Regions from separate parts of the Homo sapiens genome. Here region 2 is linked to region 1. Evidence: promoter capture Hi-C in 16 types of primary human blood cells and fetal thymus (Javierre and others, 2016). All regions are on one chromosome and are shown on one strand. Each heading gives the region's core, a stretch centred on a gene start or on the middle of the fragment in contact. The rest is flanking DNA. Distances are from core to core; before and after follow the strand shown.

The links. The method cuts DNA at HindIII sites, captures the fragments that hold promoters and counts their contacts. A CHiCAGO score of 5 or more calls a contact.
Region 2: a fragment that was not itself captured here is called in contact with the fragment with the promoter of GATM in region 1 in 1 of 17 cell types (monocytes); the score reaches 6.8 in monocytes.

What each region holds. Positions count from the first base shown.
Region 1 is chr15:45,373,391-45,379,858 of GRCh38, forward strand. GATM (glycine amidinotransferase) reads right to left here and starts at 5,154. Exons shown (of 9, transcript NM_001482.3): 1 at 4,995-5,154; 2 at 3,211-3,429. The coding sequence starts at 5,063. RefSeq lists a silencer at 4,953-5,282 and an enhancer at 5,423-5,502. The HindIII fragment of the contact is 1,395 bases long and covers 4,658-6,052 here.
Region 2 is chr15:45,637,454-45,643,921 of GRCh38, forward strand. The region is part of intron 1 of SQOR (sulfide quinone oxidoreductase); the gene reads left to right. Among named protein-coding and RNA genes, the nearest start is that of SQOR, 5.7 kb to the left of the region's middle. RefSeq lists enhancers at 177-256, 287-346, 4,335-4,384. The HindIII fragment of the contact is 590 bases long and covers 2,406-2,995 here.

The sequences.
Region 1 (6,468 bases), core at 3,904-6,403:
TACTTGGGAGGCTGAGGTGGGAGAATGGCATGAACCCAGGAGGCGGAGCTTGCAGCGAGCCGAGCTCACGCCACTGCACTCCAGCCTGGGCGAGACAGCGAGATTCCATCTTAAAAAAATATATATCTATATATATATATATTTGATAGCAGATATTTACTATATTTTGCAGAACAAAAAGTCACAGAGCTTTAAAAAATTATGCTTCCCAACAATTATGTTCCACATTCCTTTCCTTAAAATTTCTCTAGTACTTATATCTTCCAACATCTTCTGCTCTGATTGCCTATGGACAGTTTACTACATTATTTTTTCTTTTATTGTTCCCAAACTGATTAATATATGTGTCATTCTTCTCTACTACGAGGCATGGCCTTGCTTGCTAGGATCCATGCATGTCTTAGATTTACTTTCTTCTCCCTCAAAACCAGGCTTAGCACATGGCATGAAACAGAAATAACCATTATTTCCTGTCTAGAATCAAAGAGAGAAAGAGAAAGAAGAATAAACAAACAAAAAGAACCAGACGAATGAAATCAATACTGCTAATGTTACTGATATCTACAACTATTACACCGACAAAGTACCTTTGGAATGTAATTGGCAAACTGGATCCATACAACTATAATAAGTTGTTGTGTTGTCCTTTAAAATACTTAACATGTAACCTTTTATCTTTAGATTAATCCTTAATCCTGTTAGGTAGATAGCAAACTAGCAAACCTCTTAATATCTTCATTTTACTGTGGCCCAGAAATTTGTGGAATCTTGTACAAGGTCAAATAGCTAAGTAACCGAGACTAGCTATCAAGTTTTTATCAAATACCTAATTAATCCCAGACTCCTGACTTCAGCATGGTACTTTTTCCACAAGTCCATGAAATGACAAAGTCTAAAGTCATAAATCAAGTGACAAAGAACTCAAAATTACCTCTGAGAATTCTGATTCTGTAAAATCGCATGATATGAAAGTCTATCATTTTAAAGACAAGTAGAAGGATAAATTATTGCTTGGATTTAAATTTTAATTTCACCCAATTAAAATGGTTAGGGGATGGGACTTTTCAAGAAAAGACTTAAAAAGACTACTATGCCTTTTAAAAACATGTGGATGGTGTATAAATTAATCTTCTCATCAAATTCCAAATATCAGAACCAAAGATAGTTTCAGAACAATTAGAAGTTATTACTTTTTCTATTTCCCTGTCTTCCAAGTCTAACTCAGGAGTCATTTTCTTCAAGAGGACTTCTTAACTGGCCAGCCCTTGGTCATTCCTCTTTCCTGGCACTTCAACTGCCTTGTCAGTCGACTGGAATAAGATACTTGGTCTTCGTTTCTATGTGAACATCAAATCTCTTCAAATAGAAAGGAAGATCTTTTATATTAATACCTCTAGAGCCCTGGTACATGGTAGGCAATATTTCTGAAGACCACGACAATGCTGTTACAGAACTTCTTTCCTCAATCCACTTTACAAATAAAAGTGTAAATATTCAGGAAAAATTTAAGGACACTAAAGATACATTTGTAACCCATTATTAATAGGAGTCTAGGCTGTGTCTACAATGTGGAAAGTGGTCCCTTAGATATGGAATCCTTATGCAGTATAGAACCTGAACACCAGCCCATAGAGGCCCTGGATATAAGAACGTTACAGATAAAAACCACTAGGAGTTTTTGTTTGTTTGTTTGTTTTTGAGATGGAGTCTCACTCTGTTGCTCAGGCTGGAGTGTAATGGCGCCATCTCAGCTCACGGCAACCTCTGCCTCCTGGGTTCATGCCATTCTCCTGCCTCAGCCTCCCAAGTAGCTGGGACTACAGGCACCCGCCACCACGCCTGGCTAATTTTTGTATTTTTAGTGGAGACGGGGTTTCACCGTGTTAGCCAGGATGGTCTCGATCTCCTGACCTCGTGATCCACCCGCCTCAGCCTCCCAAAGTGTTGGGATTACAGGTGTGAGCCACCGCGCCTGGCCACCACTAGGAGTTTTTAAAAAGAGAGATATTACTTGTTGCCAGGGAAATCCTGGAAGACTTTGTGAAAGGTGTCATTGAAGCTAGGTGGTGGTAGGTTTAAACTACAGACTAAAGGGCACAGGAAGATGGATGGAAGAGACTTAGGTAGGGGCAAAGATGCAGGGCTTGTGAAGAAACAGTGAGTAGTCTAGCTTAGCTGCCTTATATGGTTGTCTTATAAAGTCTGCTGAAAACCAGGGTGGAATATTAGAGGATAGAGGGACTTGACCAGAAATGAACACCTGCTAATCTGCTGTACTAACAGATGAGTCAATAACTGGAATGGGGAATCCTGGAAATGCAGACAAGAGTCAGATTGTGAAGGATCTTGAATACCATGAAGACTTTATCCTAAACAATGCGGGGGGTGGTGGGGTAGTGGGGGTCGCCTAGCAAAGTACAGGAGGAAAAGAAGCAGGATGAGTAACATGATCACATCTGAGTTTTAAAAAATCACTTGGATTGCAGCTGCCAGGTGATTTGGTGAGAAGAGTGAGTAGGAGTGACCAGTTAGGAGTTAACTGCAATAGTCCAGGCAGCAGATGAGCTCCCAACCTTTAGGGAGAGGCAAAGCAGAGGAATGAGGCAAGATTCATTTTTGACAAAAGCCTTGTTACATCACGTGACATAAGGAGAAATCAAAGATGATTCTTTTGTGTTTTAGCTTGATTAAATAGGAATGCCAATAATTAAAAGGCAGGAATGAGGAGGGATCCACTTGAGCAGGTGGCTGGCAACTGAACTCCAGATGTGCCAAGTTTGAAGTCCTGTGGCAATATCCCGTAAGGAGTTTAACTCGTTGATCTGGAAGGAGTTCAATACAGAGATCCGGACCAGAGAGGAGGTGGGAGCGGTAGCTGTGAGAATGGCTAAGAGAAGGGGGCTGAAAGTAATATTCTGTTCAACCTTGCCATTACAGGCTGTGACGGAAGAAGATCTGAGGACAGTGAAAGAACTATTATTCCCAGAAAAGCTCTCTCAGAATCCAAGGGAAGAGCTTCAGGAAGCTCTTCAGGAAGGAAGCAATTATCATTGGTGTAAATAGTGTCAAATACCACAGAGGTGTCAAGTAAGATAACTTAATCACTGGATTGAGAGGTCTGGGAGTAAGCTGAAGGGAAAGCAGTCAGAGGGTAGCAGCAGCAGGTGAGGAGGGAGCGCACTTTCAGACATGTGAATAGCCTTCCTTTACCTTCACCTCGATGGTGAACGGTGGAACACAGGCGTTTTCTGCTCTGCCCACTATCACTTCCTCTAAGGGGTCCCATTCGTTGTAAGAAGAGACAGGGCAGTCCTTGGGCAGAGGCTCAGTGGCTTTGTCGTCAGCTGCACAGGAGTTCCGGGAGGAAGCCGTAGCTGCCTGGGTGCTCTGGAAAGTTCGCTGCACCCATCCTGTCAAGGTTCGTCCAAGCTTCCAAGAACAAAGAAAAGATTATTGTATTGCATTGCTCTATCAGTACTTACAGAGAGGAGGAAGTGGAGATGGAGTAAAAATCCAGCATAACATTGCCACTTAAACCCCTTTAGAACAGCATAAACCAAGACGTTAACAGTGTGTAGGTGGGTAGTGGGATTACAGATAATTTTTTTAACCCTCTTGTTTATCTACAAATTGTCTTCTTATCTATTAATTGCTGTAACTCTTTAAAACTCCTCAGAAGACCGTGTCCCCAGCTACCATACACCCCCATCTTTATCTCAGAATGCAATTCCTGCACTCAAGCTTTAAGCAACTGTTTTGCAGATGGGTCAGTCCTCCTCTCAGAAAACCATAGACAGCTGCTCTAAAACTTCCCGCCAGTCTCAGCTGGGGACGGAACCTCCTTTTCCCTTAAGTATCAAAGGTTACCAATATTAGGCTTTTTATTTATTTTTTTTTACAAATGAAAAGTTGGGAACATTTGTAAAGGACCTTATCTTTCAGAATAACCAGCTTCAAATCAAATTTTTTTCATCTTTGACATACACTTCGCATTCTTTGGCACTTCAATTCTGAGAGTGAGCAACTGCCATCTGCTCCATTTTACAGATGGTCCACAGTACCCTAGCCAAGGTCAGGATTAGCTCAGGCGTAAATTCAAACAAATAAGAAGGAGATCTAAAAACTTCAAAAGCCTTTTAAAAATGCATGGCCTATAAAATCTAGAGCAGGGAGGGTCCCTCAACCCCTGAGCAAACCTCAACCCCCCAAATCTCTATCCTGCTCTGTTAAAAGCCTTAGGAAGTGGGCAGGAGGAGAACTCGGGTGGAGGCAGAAGAAAGACGGAGAATGACAGCTGTTCAGGAACCAGTTGCTGGGAGGAAGCCAGAATGTCGGAGCGATTCCAGTACTAGAAGCATGGGAGGGTCTGCTGCCAGGGCAGCCGAGGGCGGGGAGCGCAGAAACTCTGCTTACAGGCTGCACTCGCCCCGACTCCTCTCCAGACGTGGGATCCCATGTTATACTTGGAGTGAATCTGGTCGCTCGCTCCCCGTCCCCGATTCCCACTTTGCTTGCCTCTTCTCCCCATCCATCTACCCCACACGCATTTTCCAGAAATCTCCCCAACTCGACGCCCACTCAGGCTACTGAACCCCAATAACGCCACCCTTTTACTAAGAGGAGCCTCCGTCGTCCCAACCCCTTGCTCCGAGCGGGAAGCTTGGTGCAGCGCACCAAGGTCCGGTAGAGGGGGGCGGCGCCCCCTGCGCCGTGGGCCAGCAGGCCGCGGACGCGCAGACAGCAAGTGGACCCCAAGGGCTGGAGCCGCAACGCAAGTTCCCCCTGACTGGGGGACGCCGCCCAGCTCCTGGAGCCTGCGAAGGCTCTTGAAGCTGAGCTTCCCAGGGATACCAGAAGGGACACTCTCGTGCAATTCCGGCTAGGGAAAGCGAGGGAAGGTGGCGGCTCCGGGCAGGGAGCGAGCGAGTGCTCCACGCCGCCCGCAGGATCGAGTGAGTCACGCGGCCGCCAGACGAGGCCGGTGGCGCACGCACCCGAGATCCGATGTAGTGCACCGCCTCGGCGCCGCGGCTCCCGCCGCGCAGACACCGCACCCGCAGCATCGCCCTGGCCCGGCTGGTCCACGCGCGGAATGTTCCTGGCCTCTGGGCCGCGTCGGTCCAAGCCTTCCCGAGAGCGCGCCCGGAGCGGGGTGGGCGGGCGCGCGGGGCCCGAGGCCTTTTGTAGCCGCGCTCCGCCCCGGCCGCCCCCCGCGGCCCCATTGGCTGCCGGGAACAGGTGGTGGGGCCGGCGTAGCGCCCCGAATTAGGAACTGTCGGGAAGCGCCGCGGCCGCTGGCTCGAGCCTCCGATGCTTGCCCTTTTTTAGCCAGCGGGGCCACTGACGGCTTCTGTTGCACGTCCGGACCCGGACCCAGACCCGAGCGTCGCAAGAAGGCCCGTTGGAGTCTCGCGCAACTGGGCAGGACGCGACTTCTGACGAAGTGACAATGGTCTATGCATATATTAAGTGAATATTTGAGAATTTAAATATGCAAAGCGTGAGTACAGTGTTACCCTTAAATTCACATATGCGCACTGAACCAGTCACCTCATTTTTCGGTAAACGAAACCACCTAAAGATTAGGTGGTTTCTTGGTGCAACATCGGGTTTGAGACTGCAGAAAACTAAGTCTGGAAATTGGGCCATTTGTTCCCCGGGGAGGCAGTGCTTTCCTTCCAGTACCCCGTCGGTTGTTATTTGGAACACCTGGCATTTCACATGGTCTTTGGCCATATGCCCCTGGCTTGAGAAACTCCGTCATGAAAATCGACAAGTGTGGGTCAGAAATAAGGGAGGACGACAGTTTCGTTCCTTCCATTTCATGTTTTAAAATTTTTGTTTCAACTTGATCAGGATTCTTTTTTAGAAAAGTATTTTCCCTCACAGTGCAGTCTTAATTGCTGTGGATTTGTACAGAGCTAGAGAACTCAGGTTAACATTTATGCTCCTAGCAGGAGGGGGGGCAAGAGATTTGAGTATTTCATTTTTGTACTTATAGAATTATAACTATTCATTTTTGATGAGCTGTCTTTTCAATTTTGGTATCTCAAGCTTGTTTTCCAGAGTTCATGGATGGAAAGCACCAGACGAGCAGATGGCATGGTGGAAAGAGCCTCCGAGAGGGAATTAGGATAACTGAGTTCCAGTCCTGAATCACTTATAGACTACTATATGTCTTCCTGAATTGCAGTCTTCTTATCTGCAAAGTGAGAACAATAGAATTTACTGTCCCTAGCACATGGGGGGTTGCTGAGAGGCCAAAATGAGAGATTGTACATGCAGAACTTGATGCGTGGCATTAGAGCTGTATGAGGCCGGGTGCAGTGGCTCACGCCTGTAATCCCAGCAATTGGGAAGGCCGAGGCAGGCGGATTGCCTGAGGTCAGGAGTTTGAGACTATCCTGGTCAACATGATGAAACCCTGTCTACTAAAAATACAAAAACTAGGTCGGGCGCGGTGGCTCA
Region 2 (6,468 bases), core at 1,451-3,950, 260 kb after region 1:
GGTACTCATTATTTATTGAATGAATAAGTGGGTCAGAAAGGGTTGCTTGTGACTAAGTCCAAAAAACAAAATTCATTAAGGAGACAGCTGGTGGTTTGGGAAATGACTTTGTTTAAATTTGGGGCTTTTTTTCTGGCTGGAAAAATATATAAACACATTTGGAACGGGGGTGTTTGAAATGTCAGTCAGGGCCCAGGGTCTGTGTGTGCGTGTCTGTGTGGCTGGTGTTCTGCCAGTGAAAATGAAACTGAATGTTGAAAGGAAACCGGATTCCTTTGCAGAACAGTTTCTCCTCCATGTTGCCTGTGTCTAGCTTTGTTAATCCGATGTGTTGTAACACAGGAAATGTCTTATAAAGAATGGAGACGGACCCATGACAAGGCATTTCTGGGCATAGATGTACTTTTTTCTTCTCCTTTCACGTTTCCCTGCTCCACTATCTACTATATAACTCCTCTTTGACTCTGAAGACTTGGTAAATAGGAGCAGTTTGGATAGCTTATGGAAAGCTGCCCAGACCTGGCTGGAAGCCAACTAGTTGCTTCTTAATCCCAGCCTTAAAAATCTTTGTAATCCCCAGATGTAGGTGGTAATAATAATAAAGAAAAGTAGATCTAGCCAACCATCCCTGTGATTTACATTGAGAAAGTGCTAAATTGGGACAGGAGGTAGAGAACTTTGTGGAAAAAAACAAAACAGAACAAAAAAACCCTCGGAAATTTAGAACACACTGGGACTATCTATGTCTGTAACTTTGGGAAGGGCAAATACTGGTGTTATGGACTCACCAAATTCATATATTGAAACCCTAGCCCCCAGGATCTTAGAATGTGACTGTATTAGGAGATAGTGCCTTAGTTAGAAGTGGTGGTGAGCACCTGTAGCCCCAGCTACTTGGGAGGCTGAGGTGGGAGAACTGCTTGAGCTCAGAAGTTCGAGGCTAGCCTGAGCAACATAGCAAGACCTTGTCTCAATAAAAGAATAATTAGCCAGGCACGGTGGCTCACGCCTGTAATCCCAGCACTTTGGGAGGCCGAGGTAAGCAGATCGCTTGAGGCTGGGAGTTTGAGGCCAGCCTGGCCAACATAGAGGAACCCCGTCTCTACTAAAAATTCAAAATATTAGCTGGGTGGGGTAGTGTGCACCTGTAATTCCAACTACTCAGGGGGCTGAGGCATGAGACTTGCTTGAACCGGAGAGGAGGAAGTTGCATTGAGCCAAGATTATCATGCCACTGCATTCTAGCCTGCGCAACAGAGCAAGACTCTGTCTCAAAAAAAGAAAGAAAGAAAAAAAAAAAAGGAAAATTAAGTTAGGTCATTAAGGTGGAGCCCTAATCCAATATGAATAGTATCCTTATAAGAAGATGACTCGTCAGGAGCACATGTGCACAGAGAAAAGGCCACGCAAAGGCACACTGAGAAGGTGGCCATCTGCAAACCAGGGAGAGAGATCCCAGGAGAAACCAGTCTCATCAGCACTGAGGTCTTGGACTTTCAATCTCCAGAACTTTGAGAAAATAAATTTCTGTTCTCTAGACTTCATCTAGTCTATAGTGTTTTGTTATGGCAGCCCTAGAAAATTAATACAACTGGTTCTACCAAATGGACAATAGGTTTAAAAAAAATGGCTACAACTAGGCACCATCTCTTTTAAGTCATGATCCCGACATGTCCATCACTTGCTCTTAGGATCTCTTACCCAACCTATGCAGAAGAGTCTCCCATGTACTTTCCTTCTACAGACACCCTGTGTGGTCCCTAGGATCTTGCCTGAAGTTGTTAAAGCCATATTCAGCTTCATGATTTTGACTGTTAGGAAAAGAAAAACTTGGCCTCTTCAGCAAGTGACCTAGGTTAGCTGTTGTGCCATGTACATAGTAAGTACTTTGTAAATGTATGGTGGGTGATGGGTGATGATGTTATGATCATCCTTAAATACCATGGGGTGACTCCCTTCTGATCATAATGAATCTCCATGTTTTGGCCCTAGCCCAGCCCTCAGGGAACTTTCATGCCACCTAGCTGGGAACCAGCAGCTCTGGCCCTAGCTACATGAATGGAGAGAAAATGGCTATGTCTGTATCCTGGTACCAATTCCTGACTTCTGGGAGGGAGGGCTGCTTCTGGAAGTGGGGATTGTGGTGATTTCACTCTATGATAACTTTCTTATATCTTTGGCTATTTGTTCTAAGGTAGCCCATGATGTCTCCATAGGAAAATGATGTGTTTTAACAACCACCATGTTTGGAGTATAGATTGTGAGAGCTCTTCAAGACAGTGCTGGGTCTAGTAAATGTGGTTTTGTGTTTCTGTGAGCACATAAATGATGCTTGAGATGGATGAGGGGCCATCTGAGTTTGGAGGAAAATCATGAGCCTTTCAAGGTCTAGGTGATCAAATCTAAGCTTGTTTTGAATCATTGAGTAAGAAAGGTCTTTAATGGCAACTAGACACCTCCACTTATTTTACACTCAGGGAAATGGACTCAAAATGGTAAATGACTATCTCATGGTCTTACAATCTCCATTTCCTCACTTATAAAATGGGAATAATAATTCCCACCTCTCTGGTTTTTGTGAGTAATTACGTAAAGTGCATAGCACAATGCCTGTCACATATCAACACTTCCACAAATGATTTGGGGACTTGCGGGGAGAGATTGAGAGGAATGGTTTCCATTCTAATTATGTTCCAGACCTGCTTATTAAAGCCTTGTTATTCTTTGCCACAAAAATTCACATCTCTGATCAATCTAAGGAGTTATTAGAACAAGCGTCCCCATTTGAAAGCCTGCTTGTGAACTTCCATTTTCCTTTTCTCATTTAGAGGATAGCAAAGTTTTAGAGAAGCAGGGGACCTTTGATGCCACCCAATCTGATCCTTTATTCCATTGATGAAGAAAGCATGGCCCAAAATGGGTCAGGAAGAGCTGTACCTAGCACTCCCTGGACTGTGGTCCTGGGTCTCTTGACTCTTGATATGCCCTCAGACAAAGCTTCACCAGGAACGGGTCATTGTCATCTAGCTGGACACAGAAGAGACGTGAGCTGTCTACACCTCATTCTGTCTCAACTATTAAAGGATTGAGTTTAGAGTCTCTCCAACTATGTCCAAATAGCAAATGTATACCTTGAAATTAAAGAGTGTTTTCTCATTATGGTAAGACCTCACACACTGGATTCCAAGGAATGATATACTTGAATGAAATGGCCAGTCCCGTTTACAGTGAACTCCTTGCATGTGAGACTCTGAGTGGAAATCCCAATGCTCCTGAGGCTGATGAGTAATTTTAATGTGGTCATTTAACAAACTCAGGAAAACAAGTTCATCCCTGTTGTGTGACTGGGAGTACACTGATTCCACCTCAGGCTTCTTTTTCCAGTGAGTCATGTCCTACAGTCTGCAGATGGGCACACACAGGCATATACAGACTAGAAAGGAAACCTGAAAATTACCTGACCAGAGGCCAACTATGAGTGGTGGGGTTGAAGGGGAGCTAAGTCGTGCTTCTTTATGTACTAGAATGTGAGAAGTCAGGCTCCCACTGGCTACAGCAAGCAGAAAAACAAGGTGTTCTTTCATTTTTTTTCCCCCTATATAATTCAGTCAAAACTCTTAACTTTCATTTGAAATAATCCAATTGACTGACATATTTTTTCTTTCCTGGAATCTGAATGCAAGCATTTTCCTTATGTAAATATAATTTGTGTTTTCTGCTTAGCAATTGTATTGGTTTGGTGAAATTGTCAGTTCTCTTGTTACAATGCATTCTCTGATTGTAAAATAAGGATAGGTCAGGATAATTTGTAGGAAATTTCTCAGGAGCAAAGGGAGCCACTGTTTCATTGTAAAGTCCTCATTAGCAACTCTTAATCAGTAACTCTGCAAAGAAAATTCCTACAGTTTTGCCCCTGAAGAGTGAGGGAACTAAAGAACCCCAGTGCAGCTCCCAGTCCTTGAATCATCAGAGAGCTATATAGATTGTTCCTATTTCCCCAGTGACTCAGTCCTGGCCCACTACTGGTGTACTTGCTTCACAGCTTAATATTTAAACAAATGTTTGGATTTATAACAGCTCCAGAGGGAGAGTTTCAACATGGCCCTGCAGGGCTAAGTGAAGATTGCTCCATTTTCTTTATTTGTTAACAGTATAGTAATCCAGTTCCTGAACACACAAGGCAAGAATAGCACTGCCATTACTCAAGCAGAGGTGTGCCAAGAGGAAGAGCACAGCTGCTATCCTTTCTCGGAACAACACTCATTCAGTTTTCAAGGGGGGTGCTTTCCTTCTCCCTCACAGTGCCTTGGACCTTTACTCCACTTTGAGTAATTCTAGTATTGCTGCTCACATCCTGTCTTCATTATATTCACCTGAACAAGTGGATATAATGTCATCGTTCACATTCTTCCTTCTTCTTTATCCCCTATAGCTGATTGTCGCAAAAATGTCAATGTGTGTCTCACATTCACACCCCTCATCTCTGTTCCCATTCAGACCCCACCCTCACTGTGCCTGAATTTCTGAAACAGCCGCTTAATGGATCTTCATATTCCTGGTCTTTCCTGTTATAACAGACAGACTCTTCTTACCCATCACTGGCTGTGCAGTGCCTAGCACAATCCCTGGCATTTAGTAAACAATCAAAAATGCTGAACTCAACTGAATTGCTCCAGTTCATCCTCTCAGCTTCCCCTGGGGACTCTTTATAAATCCAGTTTTATTAAGACCTTCCAAGGGCTCTCACTGCCATTAGCAGTAACCACAGGCTGAAATGCACACCAGGGCTGAGCAGGTAACAAATGAACAACATAGGCTGAGTGGGGCTGGAGTGAACTGAAACCTTGTGCATGGTGGAGAAGACCAATGACTGCTCAGCTCCAGCCAAGAGTTTCCATGTGAGAATGTGGGCTTAGTGTTAGAGGCCAAGAATCTGGAATATTTTTTGTCGAGATCTCCAAATTTTTTAATGTTGATGACTAATTCAAAATTCAAGAAAAGCACTGTGAGCCAAGCAAAACACAGCTCTGGCCTGCACTTGGCCTGCAGGTTGCTGCTTTGTGACTCCTAGATCAAATTGCCATTGTCTGGGAATAAGCTCTCAGACCTAAACTTTAGTAACACATGCCTATCCAATCTCATTTCTCCCTCTTCCCAGAGCGCTAGACTGCCCTCCTTTATATCCACCGTTAGGAGATTCTCATTGCAAGTGATTCTCCTTTCAAAATCTTGAACCCAACTGTCCAAAAGTAGCCCGAACAGGTCCCTGACATAACTTCCCTTTTTCTGCTCACATAATTCCTTTTTCTTCAGCTGTCTAGATGTCAACTTTGACTTTTTTTTTTCTTCCAGAAGCCTTTCCCACGTCTTCCGAAATTATTCTCTCTTCCCAGCCTCTATCTTATCTGAATCTTTGTTTGCATTTCTAATGCTAACACCTAATTCAGGAGCTTATCGCTCACACCTGGACCACTCCAATAGTCTCCTAACTGATTTGTCAAAATTAGCCCATGTGAAACTGGTTTTGTTTCTCCTCCAACAGGAGGGTTAATTTGTTCCAACACCAGAAGATTCTCTTACTCAAAGCTGCCCCTTTGTGCGATCACTTTCCAGAACTTTGTTTTCCCATGTAAAGCCTCAATGCCCTAGCTAAAAGAGTGGGAGGGGGTCAGGCCTGGAGAAATTGCTGTCTCTCAGCTTGCATCCTTACATACAGTGGGCGCTCAATGAATACTTGTGGACACATTCTTTTTTCTTTTTGAGATGGAGTCTTGCTCTGTCACCCAGGCTGGAGTGTAGTGGTGCGATCTCGGCTCACTGCAGCCTCCGCCTCCCAGGTTCAAGCAATTCTTCTGCTTCAGTCTCCCAAGTAGCTGGGACTACAGGTGCGTGCCACCACGCCCAGCTAATTTTTTGTATTTTTAATACAGATAGGGTTTCACTGTGTTAGCCAGGATGGTCTCAATCTCCTGACCTCATGATCCGCCTGCCTCAGCCTCCCAAAGTGTTGGGATTACAGGCGTGAGCCACCATGCCTGGCCTGGAAACATTCTTAAACAGCAGCAGAATTGTGACCATGCGAATTTCATGTAAGTCTATTTCACAAAGATACACTTACATATTTAGCATAGCTAAATGTAAGTAATTTAATCGTATATCATTTGCGCAGGTAAAAATTCTCCTAATAAAAATTCAGCTTAGATTATCTTTCCTGATTTTCAGTTCTGCAAACTTAGCCCCTGTGTGATTGAGACAAATTCAGTGTAGGTATAAACCTGAATTTGCACATAGACTTATATGCTGCAGAAAACTTGTTTCTCACCTTCTTTTCTGAGCACTTCTGGCTGATGCCCTCCTTTATCAAGGTTAAATGGATAAAATAGATGTGAAGATTTTTCTTGGTGGAGAAGATATCTTAAGTTTCAATAGAATGGAGGATAGTATATGACAAAGGAAAGGAAGGCCACG